2 separate regions of the Homo sapiens genome follow, and region 2 is linked to region 1. The links are contacts of gene promoters, found by promoter capture Hi-C in human tissues and cell types (Jung and others, 2019). All regions are on one chromosome and are shown on one strand. Each heading gives the region's core, a stretch centred on a gene start or on the middle of the fragment in contact. The rest is flanking DNA. Distances are from core to core; before and after follow the strand shown. Region 1 holds the start of PTPRG (protein tyrosine phosphatase receptor type G). Region 2 overlaps PTPRG (protein tyrosine phosphatase receptor type G).

The links. The method cuts DNA at HindIII sites, captures the fragments that hold promoters and counts their contacts. A contact is called where the count stands out against the background at its distance.
Region 2: a fragment that was not itself captured here is called in contact with the fragment with the promoter of PTPRG in region 1 in 1 of the 25 tissues and cell types used here (dorsolateral prefrontal cortex).

The regions. Positions count from the first base shown.
Region 1 is chr3:61,559,383-61,563,631 of GRCh38, reverse strand. PTPRG (protein tyrosine phosphatase receptor type G) reads right to left here and starts at 2,061. Exons shown (of 30, transcript NM_002841.4): 1 at 1,260-2,061. The coding sequence starts at 1,344. RefSeq lists an enhancer at 3,284-3,959. The HindIII fragment of the contact is 9,021 bases long and covers 1-4,249 here.
Region 2 is chr3:61,909,786-61,914,034 of GRCh38, reverse strand. All of the region lies in intron 2 of PTPRG (protein tyrosine phosphatase receptor type G), which reads right to left. Among named protein-coding and RNA genes, the nearest start is that of PTPRG, 350 kb to the right of the region's middle. The HindIII fragment of the contact is 5,522 bases long and covers 1-4,249 here.

The sequences.
Region 1 (4,249 bases), core at 812-3,311:
TATGCAGGAGTTGATGGATGAGAGGGCAGAAAAACGGGGAATTCTCTGTCCTTAGGGGAGCGAGGGATGAAAAGCAAATCACCCCTTCTTCCAGCCCTTCCCCGGGCTAGGGCAGGACTTGGCCTCCACCCCAAGGGACAGCTACGAGGGAGCTCGGGGCTGCTGCCCGGGGGACCTGCAAGAGAGGAGAGGGAGGCAGCTGGCCTCTGCCCTCCCCAGGGGAGAGAGGAGGGGGAACTGCCAGCTGAGAGCTGGAAGTGGAGGGTCGCCGAGCCGCACACCGTTACGTGCGGTGATTTATTCTTATCAACGGCCAGTATTGTTCCTGTCTTAACCTGGCCAGAAAGGAGCGAGACTGGGTCTGCCAGCCGCGAACAGCCTGCAAAAGGGCAAAGATGAAGGTAGGCAGGGCGCGCGAGACAGGAAAAAAATCAGCCCCGGCGCGAACAGCAACCCGGCCGCCGAAACCGCCCCGGCCGCCGAAACCGCCCCCGCCCCCTCCCCGCGTCCAGACCCAGGCAATCCAATCGAGCAGAGCAGCGGAGGGAAAGGGCCACGGGCCGGGGCTAGGGGAGACACGGATCTCTCCGAAACCGCCTGCGCCCTGCCGTCTCACTGCGCCCAAGGAGGCTGCCTCACGCCGGCACCGAAGTGCTGCCCGCGCCCCAGCCCCCAGAGAGAGGGAGGACGCCCCCGACCCAGAACGCAGGCTGCTCCCCACACATCCTCAGTCCTCCGCAGCCAGCCTCCGACTTCCATTCCCCGAAACCTAGCCCTCCCAAAGGGATGGAGAACAGCAAAGCAAACCCCCACCTTCTGAGTTCCTTCAATACCCGCCAGAGCGAGGGGGCTCATCCCGGGCCCCCCAAACCCACAGAAGCATCCTTTCCATGGCCTCAGTCTCCCCAACCGCCCCACAACTCGAGTTCTCCCGATCGGCGACGAGTCAGCAAAGCAAGTCCCCCTTTCTCCCGATTCCAGCTCCCCAGGACCCCCAAAAGGGAGCGGGAGCAGACCCCCGCGTCCCCCAGCCCCCTCCCCGGCCAGCCCCTGCCTCCACCTTCCTCGACCACTAGCCTGCCTCCCTAAACATCATCCAAGCCAGCGGAGCAATCCTTTTCTCCTATCCGGGCGCCGGGCCACCCTCCACCCTCTCCAGGGTCTCCCGGACGGGCGCCGGAGCTCCGCGCCCAGGCGACAACTCCGCATCCCCAACGCGCGCCGGCCGGGGCCGCATCCCCTCGGCGGCCGGCACTCACCGGGGAAGCACACGACATAATGGAGCACGGAACTGGTGATTTTCAGGAACAAAATCCACCAACACGGTTCCAGTAACCTCCGCATGTCCGAAAACGCACATCGAAAAGAGGAAAGCAGGGAGGTAAACTTGTTGAATAAGTTCTTGCCTCCGTGCGAGCCTCCGCTAAGCCGGGGCGCTTCCCCGGCTCGCCCGCTCCACGGGCCCCCCGCGCTCGGCGGCCCGAGTCCCCTTGGAATCCGGGAAGCCGCCGAGCGCCCCCCGGAAAATCTCAAAAAGTGACCGGGAACGCAGAGCCACGCTGGGGACGATCCTCTCGGCGGAGAAAGGCTGCTTTCCGTTTAAAAAGGAGAGAGCCGATCGGGCAGGGCGCGGAGTCGGCGGCCGGCGGCGATGCCCCGGGCCTGGGGCAGGCAGGGACCGCGGGCGGCGGCGGCGAGCAGCCGAGGATCCCCAACTTGAGTCGGCAGCGCAGCACAGCCCGAGAGCCGGCGGGCGGCGGCGGGGCTGAGCGCGGCGCGGCGTCTCCGGGCTTCAGGCAGGCAGCTCCTTCCAGGGCCCCGGGAAGGAAGGAGGCATGTTTGCGAGAGGGGAAGGGGAGGGGAGAGGCAGGGGGAGCGGAGAGCCCCCCAAAATAGAAACGGCCGGAGGAAACGGAGGAAAACACAAAGGATCTCAGAGGGGCGCTGGGGCGAGGGCGCCTTCAGTCCATGCTCCTGAAAGTTGTGGCTCCGGCGCAGGCTGGGAAGGAACGAAGAGCGCGGGGCTGGAAACTGGCCATGCCTCCATACAGGAAGTAACATGTGAGCATGGATCCTGGCAGAGACTTTAAAGCCGGCGAGCGAAGGAGCGAGCGAACAGGGGGCGCGCGGTGGCGGCGGGGGCGCGCAGCCCGGGCCAGCTGGCGGCGGGCGCGCGCTCTCCGCGTTCTTAAAGCAGCCGCGCTTGGCTCCCGCCTTGCGCTGGGTCCCTCGGCTCTGCTCTCTCCGCGCGGCCTCTACTGGGACAGTTTGGGGACTGGGGGCGATTGTAGCCCGTGCGCGGAGAGAGGAGGGAGGCTGCCTTCTGGGGCCGGCTTGTTTTTTGCTGGATTCCCGTTGTTCGAGCTCTTAAAAGACGCCGCACGGTGCTCGGGTTTGGCGAGATCCTCCGCGCAGCTCGCGGATCCCGGACTTGAGGGGCCCCTCGCCCTGGCGAGGGGAAAGGGGGAGGGCGGACAGCTGCCTTTTTAAAGCGATGGGGTTTTCTGTTCGGCTTCACTGCCCTGGCATTTGCAGCGGTGAGGCTCACCGTCTGCGGCTCCTGTTCGCGCCTCCAACACAGCGCATTCCCCCGCCGGGAAACAAAGCCGAGCGGCCTTTGCACTCCGGCTACATTGAGATTTAATTTTTTTTTTTTTTCTTTTTCGGGCTTTCATTGGCCCAGTCCAAGGCTGGGGAAAGTGGGGGAGGGGAGGAATGTCGATCCCAGGATTGCGAAATCTAGCCCTTCCGAGCCCCGCATCCCCTTTCCCGGCGCCACGATGGATCGGTGGCGGAGTTTCCCCAACTCGCAGCTTCTCTGGAGAAGGTTCCCGCACCCCGGTTTGGCCGCGGGGAGGGCGCAGGAAGTGCGCCTCTTACACCCTGCAGGGTGAAAGCAGCGCCGCGGGGCCGGACTGATTTCCTGGCAGCTACCCGGGGAGCGGCTGCTTCTTTAGCAATCGGGGAGAGGCGTCCGGGGGAAATGGGAGGACTAGGCTTATCTGTAATGAGTTTTGTCCCTTGGCTCTCGGTAAGAAGATCTTTATCGCTTAGACTTCTAAGCGCCCTATTTTACATTCTTAACGCTGGGGCTAAAAGTGGGGGAGGCGGGCTTTCGAGTAAATGTGTAACTGAGCCAAGGTAATTAGCCGTTTGACATTTTTTGCCTAATTTTTCTGCCTGTGTTTCAAAGCGATCTTGACGTGGGATTGTTTTGTTTTGTTTTGAGACGGAGTCTCGCTCCGTCGCCCAGGCTGGAGTACAGTGGCTCGATTTCGGCTCACTACAACCTTCGCCTCCCGGGTTCGGGCGATTCTCCTGCCTCAGCCTCCCGAGTAGCTGGGACTACAGGCGCCCGCCACCACGCCCGGCTGATTATTTTTTTGGTGGTTTTTTTTGTTTGTTTTTTGTTTTATTTTGGTTTTTTTTGTAGAGGCGGGGTTTCACCGTTTTGGCAAGGCTGGTCTCGAACTCCTGACCTTGTGATCCGCCTGCCTCAGCCTCCCAAAGTGCTGAGATTACAGGCGTGAGCCACCGCGCATGGTTCTTGTGTTTTAAACGTGTCCCTGCTGTTTCATCCCAACACGGCAGGGTCCTCCACCCACCCAAACATCCCAACCGGATGCTAGGTTTTCAAATAAAGTACAGATGGTCGGAGATCCTCCCGTTCGATGTGATTAAGGAAGCATTTTCACACCCACACTTCCAAAAGAAAAACCTTTGAAAAGTTACGTATGGGATTACAAACTAATAAAAGCCAGGAAGTTCCTGGGGAGGGCCCTAGCTCTATCTTTAGCAGAACGGGGGTGAACACCCTCCCCCAGGGTGGGGAATGAGGCGAGTTTGTTTGCTTTGGAATGTGGTCCTTCCTGGTTTTATTGGAATCCTGACTTCTTTATAAAGGATTGCGAGGGCCATTTTTCTTGGAAGTGTTGTAATGAGGGATATTCGTTCCTCAAGTTAGATTACCCCAGCATCCCTGACTACCTTCTTAATGTCGAGTGATAAAATAGGAAAAACTCGTCAAATACTTGTGTCAGCGTCCTCAGGTGAGGTTTCCTCCTCTGTGAAATGGACAGTAAAAGCTGTCCTTTGTGGAATGCTTACTGTCTACCAGGCATTGTGCTGAATTCATGCCATAAACTGCTTGCTCATTCAACAAATGTATTGAGCACCTACTGTTTGAGGGACACACTGGGAACACAGCCTCGAACAAAAAGGGCAAGCCCCCATGCCTTATGGGAGCATA
Region 2 (4,249 bases), core at 885-3,384, 350 kb before region 1:
TATACTCAATTAGGCTGGAAAAGGGGGGAGGTTTTCCTTTTGTTATAACACTGAAACAAAATAGGATTCTTTAGTAAATTTGGACCGATCTCTGAGAGCTGAGCTCTTCTCTAAGACCACGCCTCTCAGTTTACACAGCTTTAGAAACCCAGACATTCACACTGGTGAGAAGAAAGCATCAGACAAAACTAAAAGCTGGGGAGATTTCCCTTAGAGATTAGTCACATAACCAAGTATGTTCACTTCAGGTGTAATGAACGAGGTAATGCTCATCCAGCCATGGGTGCAGACTTAGTAAGGAATATGCTTTCAATGGAATAAAAGGCACAGACCACTGGATATCCCTTTGTGAAGACCACAAAAGCAAGGTTACAAAAAGACGTAAAGAAACTCATACAGAAATATAAGATCTAGAAAACTCTGAGCAACCACTGAAGCCACACATCCATATGAGTGCATACACATACATATGCACTCGTAGAGTGCATCTGTATGAATCAGAAAAAGGTGTCCCTCGGCCGGGTGCGGTGGCTCACGCCTGTAATCCCAGCACTTTGGAATGCTGAGGCAGGCGGATCACGAGGTCAGGAGATTGAAACCATCCTGGCTAGCACAGCGAAATCCCGTCTCTACTAAAAATACAAAAAATTAGGCGGGCGTGGTGGCGGGCACCTGTAGTCCCAGCTACTCGGGAGGCTGAGGCAGGAGAATGGCATGAACCCAGGAGGCGGAGCTTGCAGTGAGCCAAGATCGCGCCACTGCACTCCAGCCTGGGTGATAGAGCGAGACTCCGTCTCAGAAAAAAAATAAAAAAGAAAACGTTGTCCCCTCAAAGGTTGAAAAAGTACCTGCTGGGGACTACGCTCACTATTTGGGTGATGGGTTCAACAGAAGCCCAAACTCCAACATTATGCAATACATCCATATAACATAACTGCACATGTATCCCCTGAATCTAAAGTTTAAATGAAAAGAAAAGGTGTCCCTTGCTCTGATATGCAGCCGCCATTGGTCTCCTTGGCTGGTGCTCTCACACAGTGAGCAGCCTGCCCAGCTGTCCACTGCAGTCCTTCACATACACCTGTTCATGTTATTTTCAGCATGAGAAAAACCAGTAAAGCAAAAAGAAATTGGAAGAAAAATACTAAAAAATGGTGAAAAAAAAATAAAACCTAAACATCAATGACTTGTTTCCAGAGTCTGTTTCCTGCCAGTAAACTAAAATACCCACATCAAACCACTCTTAAAATGATTCCAGGCTCTGCATAATTCAAATGTTTTACAAGAAACTCCTAACTGCATGGAGAATAAAGAAATGCCAACCTCCCAAATCTTGGTCCCGATTGACAAGAATAAGGGGAATTAAATATCAAAACTATGCAGATTATTCAAGAATATCAAACAAAAAGGCAAAAGATCAAAAAACAGCTATACAACTTTTAGAAAAGACTGTCGGTCTTCTGAGCACAAAAATCAATCATGATGACCAATTCCAAAGGATTTTTTTTCTTTACTTTTTCCTCTTTTTAACATTAAAGGGTAATTAAGTCATACATAAGTGAAGCTTTGCAGTTTGACTTCAGTAAGCAAAGCCTAATTCTAAATGATGCTGAGACACTACAGAATGCAAATCCATGAGTAATTTTTAAATTTAAAAGGGAACCAAGAAAACACCCTCTTCATTATGCAAATTCCTCCTACCTTCTCAGTGGGCTAGTTCTCACCCAAGTAAATAGAAGAGTTATTGTTTTGTTTGCTGACTGTTTTGGTCTTAATAGTGGTAAGGGGCCATAACTACATTCCCATGGAAATTATATATAAAGAAGGGGTATTTCTAAAGCTGACTATACTGTTGCGCATTTTCTAAGAGTACCAAGGAATACTCTTAGAAGGAAATCCTATGAGGCTACAAAAATACTTCATAAAAATAGAAGGCAGCTAGATAAGATCCTGAGGACTCGCTCCTTACACCACTCACAAAAAGAAAAGATTTAATTACATTAGAAGGACATCAAATGATGCACACTGACAATTAAAATAGAAGAAATTGGGGGCGTAAATCATCCTGGTGAAAAATACACAGATTTACCAGGAGTGAAAGAAATGCAAATTGAAACAACTTTAAAGTTACACTTCACAGCTATTAAAATACAATGAAATTATAAAATTCAATTTTTGGTAGAGCTCTAGATAAACAGGTACACACTGCTGGCAATGAAACCAACTTCAATCTTTCTTTAAATGATCTAGCAGCCTTTAATAAGAGCTGTTCAAACGCAGTAATTTCAAAGAAGTAACTTGGGGAAAAAAGAAATTAATTTATACCAAGAAATATTACATTTCATTATAAAATAATGAAATTGAAAACAATGCTTCAAAATGGGGAAACAATCATACAAACCATGACGCAGCAGCATGGTATATAATGACATTTAAGGTAATGACATGTAAAATACATCCCCTATTAAAAATACACTTGTAGACAATATTAACAGAAAGATATGTATTTAAGTATATTTATTCAATCAACAAGAAAAATGCAATTAAATGTATTTTCATAGTGAATGTGAAAAGCAGAATCAAAAGTAGTCCCAAATGGAAAAATAGGTTCAAATATTTAGTAAAAATAACATAGGAAGCCAAAGTGATGGAATTAGCATTTAATTTGCCTACTCTTTTATCCCACTCTCAACAAATATTAATTGGACTTCTATGTCTCTGGTGCCTGGCCAGACACTTAAAATACAGTAAGGAGAAACAAAGGCACAGGTACTGACCTCATGATTACGAAGTTCACAAGGGAAATGTCTCTGCCCCCTTCCCCTCTTTGTCTTGAAACCAAAAATGTATTAAGTATCAGTTCATAAGTATTGAAAGGGTTTGAAAGAAGGAAATAGAGGTTGTCATAGGAGAGAGGAGTATGAAGGTCAAGAGGGGCTTTCCTAAAGACACTATGAGAAACTGGAAGAGTAGACGTTATCCAGGTGAAAGAGGATGCAGAGAGGACAACAGGAGCAGCAGAGGGAATAAGAGGTGCTGAGCCCAGAGAAGGTGCTGGAAGAATAAGGCAGAGGTCTTCTGTGGCCAGAACATAAAGAATGGGGGACAACCAGAGTCAAGAATTGAATCATGGGAGGTGGGGCTGAGACCTGGCAAAGATTCAGGCCTTCCACCTAAGTGCCAAGGGAAGCCCCTGACAGTTTTAATCAAAGCAGGGACCGTCTGGGGCTTGCTCAGATTTCCTCCTGGCTGCACCGAACAGAGGCAGGGGGTTCTGTGGGGAAAGCAGGTGGGAATCAACAGCATAGGGAAAATGACAGCCTTGGATTGTTAAAAGACAAAAAGAAATTCTAGGAGGAGCCTCGGGAGTTATCTCACAGACACAAAGCCTGCACCAGGTACTACAAGGCTGGCTTCACTCTCAATTTCTTAAACATAATTAAGAAAACACAGTCACTACCAGCATAGAAAGGAAAGGAACAGGAACAAATTGGAACAGGCAATATCCAGGAGAGGAAAATCCAGTGGTTAAAGGTGTAAAATGATGCTCAACATCACCAGCAACAAGAGAAAGGCAAGGTAAAACAGTGAGTTACCATTTCATACCCACTGGGTTGGACAACATTAGGATACGAGGCAATGAGAATCTTTGGTAAGCTCATATGACTCTTGATGTTCAAACAGAGATGGTGCAGAGCAACAGTAGAGTCATCCTAGGAAGTGATGGAGCACATTTTGGTGACATTCGGCAACAAACAAATTCACTAAATTTGCAAAATTCATCAGGACAAACAAAGTGTCTCCCTGTGGGGAATGGGTAAGAATGGGATGGATCAATACACGAAATAGGACACAGCATTCAAAAGCAATGAAGAGGTACGTAAGGCATGTGAACAGACTTTGAAAATTGGCATTGATTTAAAATGCATAACAGCATAATGAGATATATCACACAAAAATAAGTGAATTAAAAATACTACTAATCAGCATCTTTGGGGAAAAAAGAATGGAATATGAGTGAAAGAGAAAAATGAAGTAAAGCAAAACAAACCACAAGGAGCCCCTTCACAAACCAAGGAGGACAGTATGCCATGAAGAGTATGATCACTAAACTCTCTGAACCTGATGTCCAAATTTTAAAAAAGTGTTTAAATGATTTTGGAACAGACTTTAATATTTATCAGCGATAAAAATCTCACTTGGTATATTATTGTATACAAATACCATGGCAGCAATATTAGCAATTCGA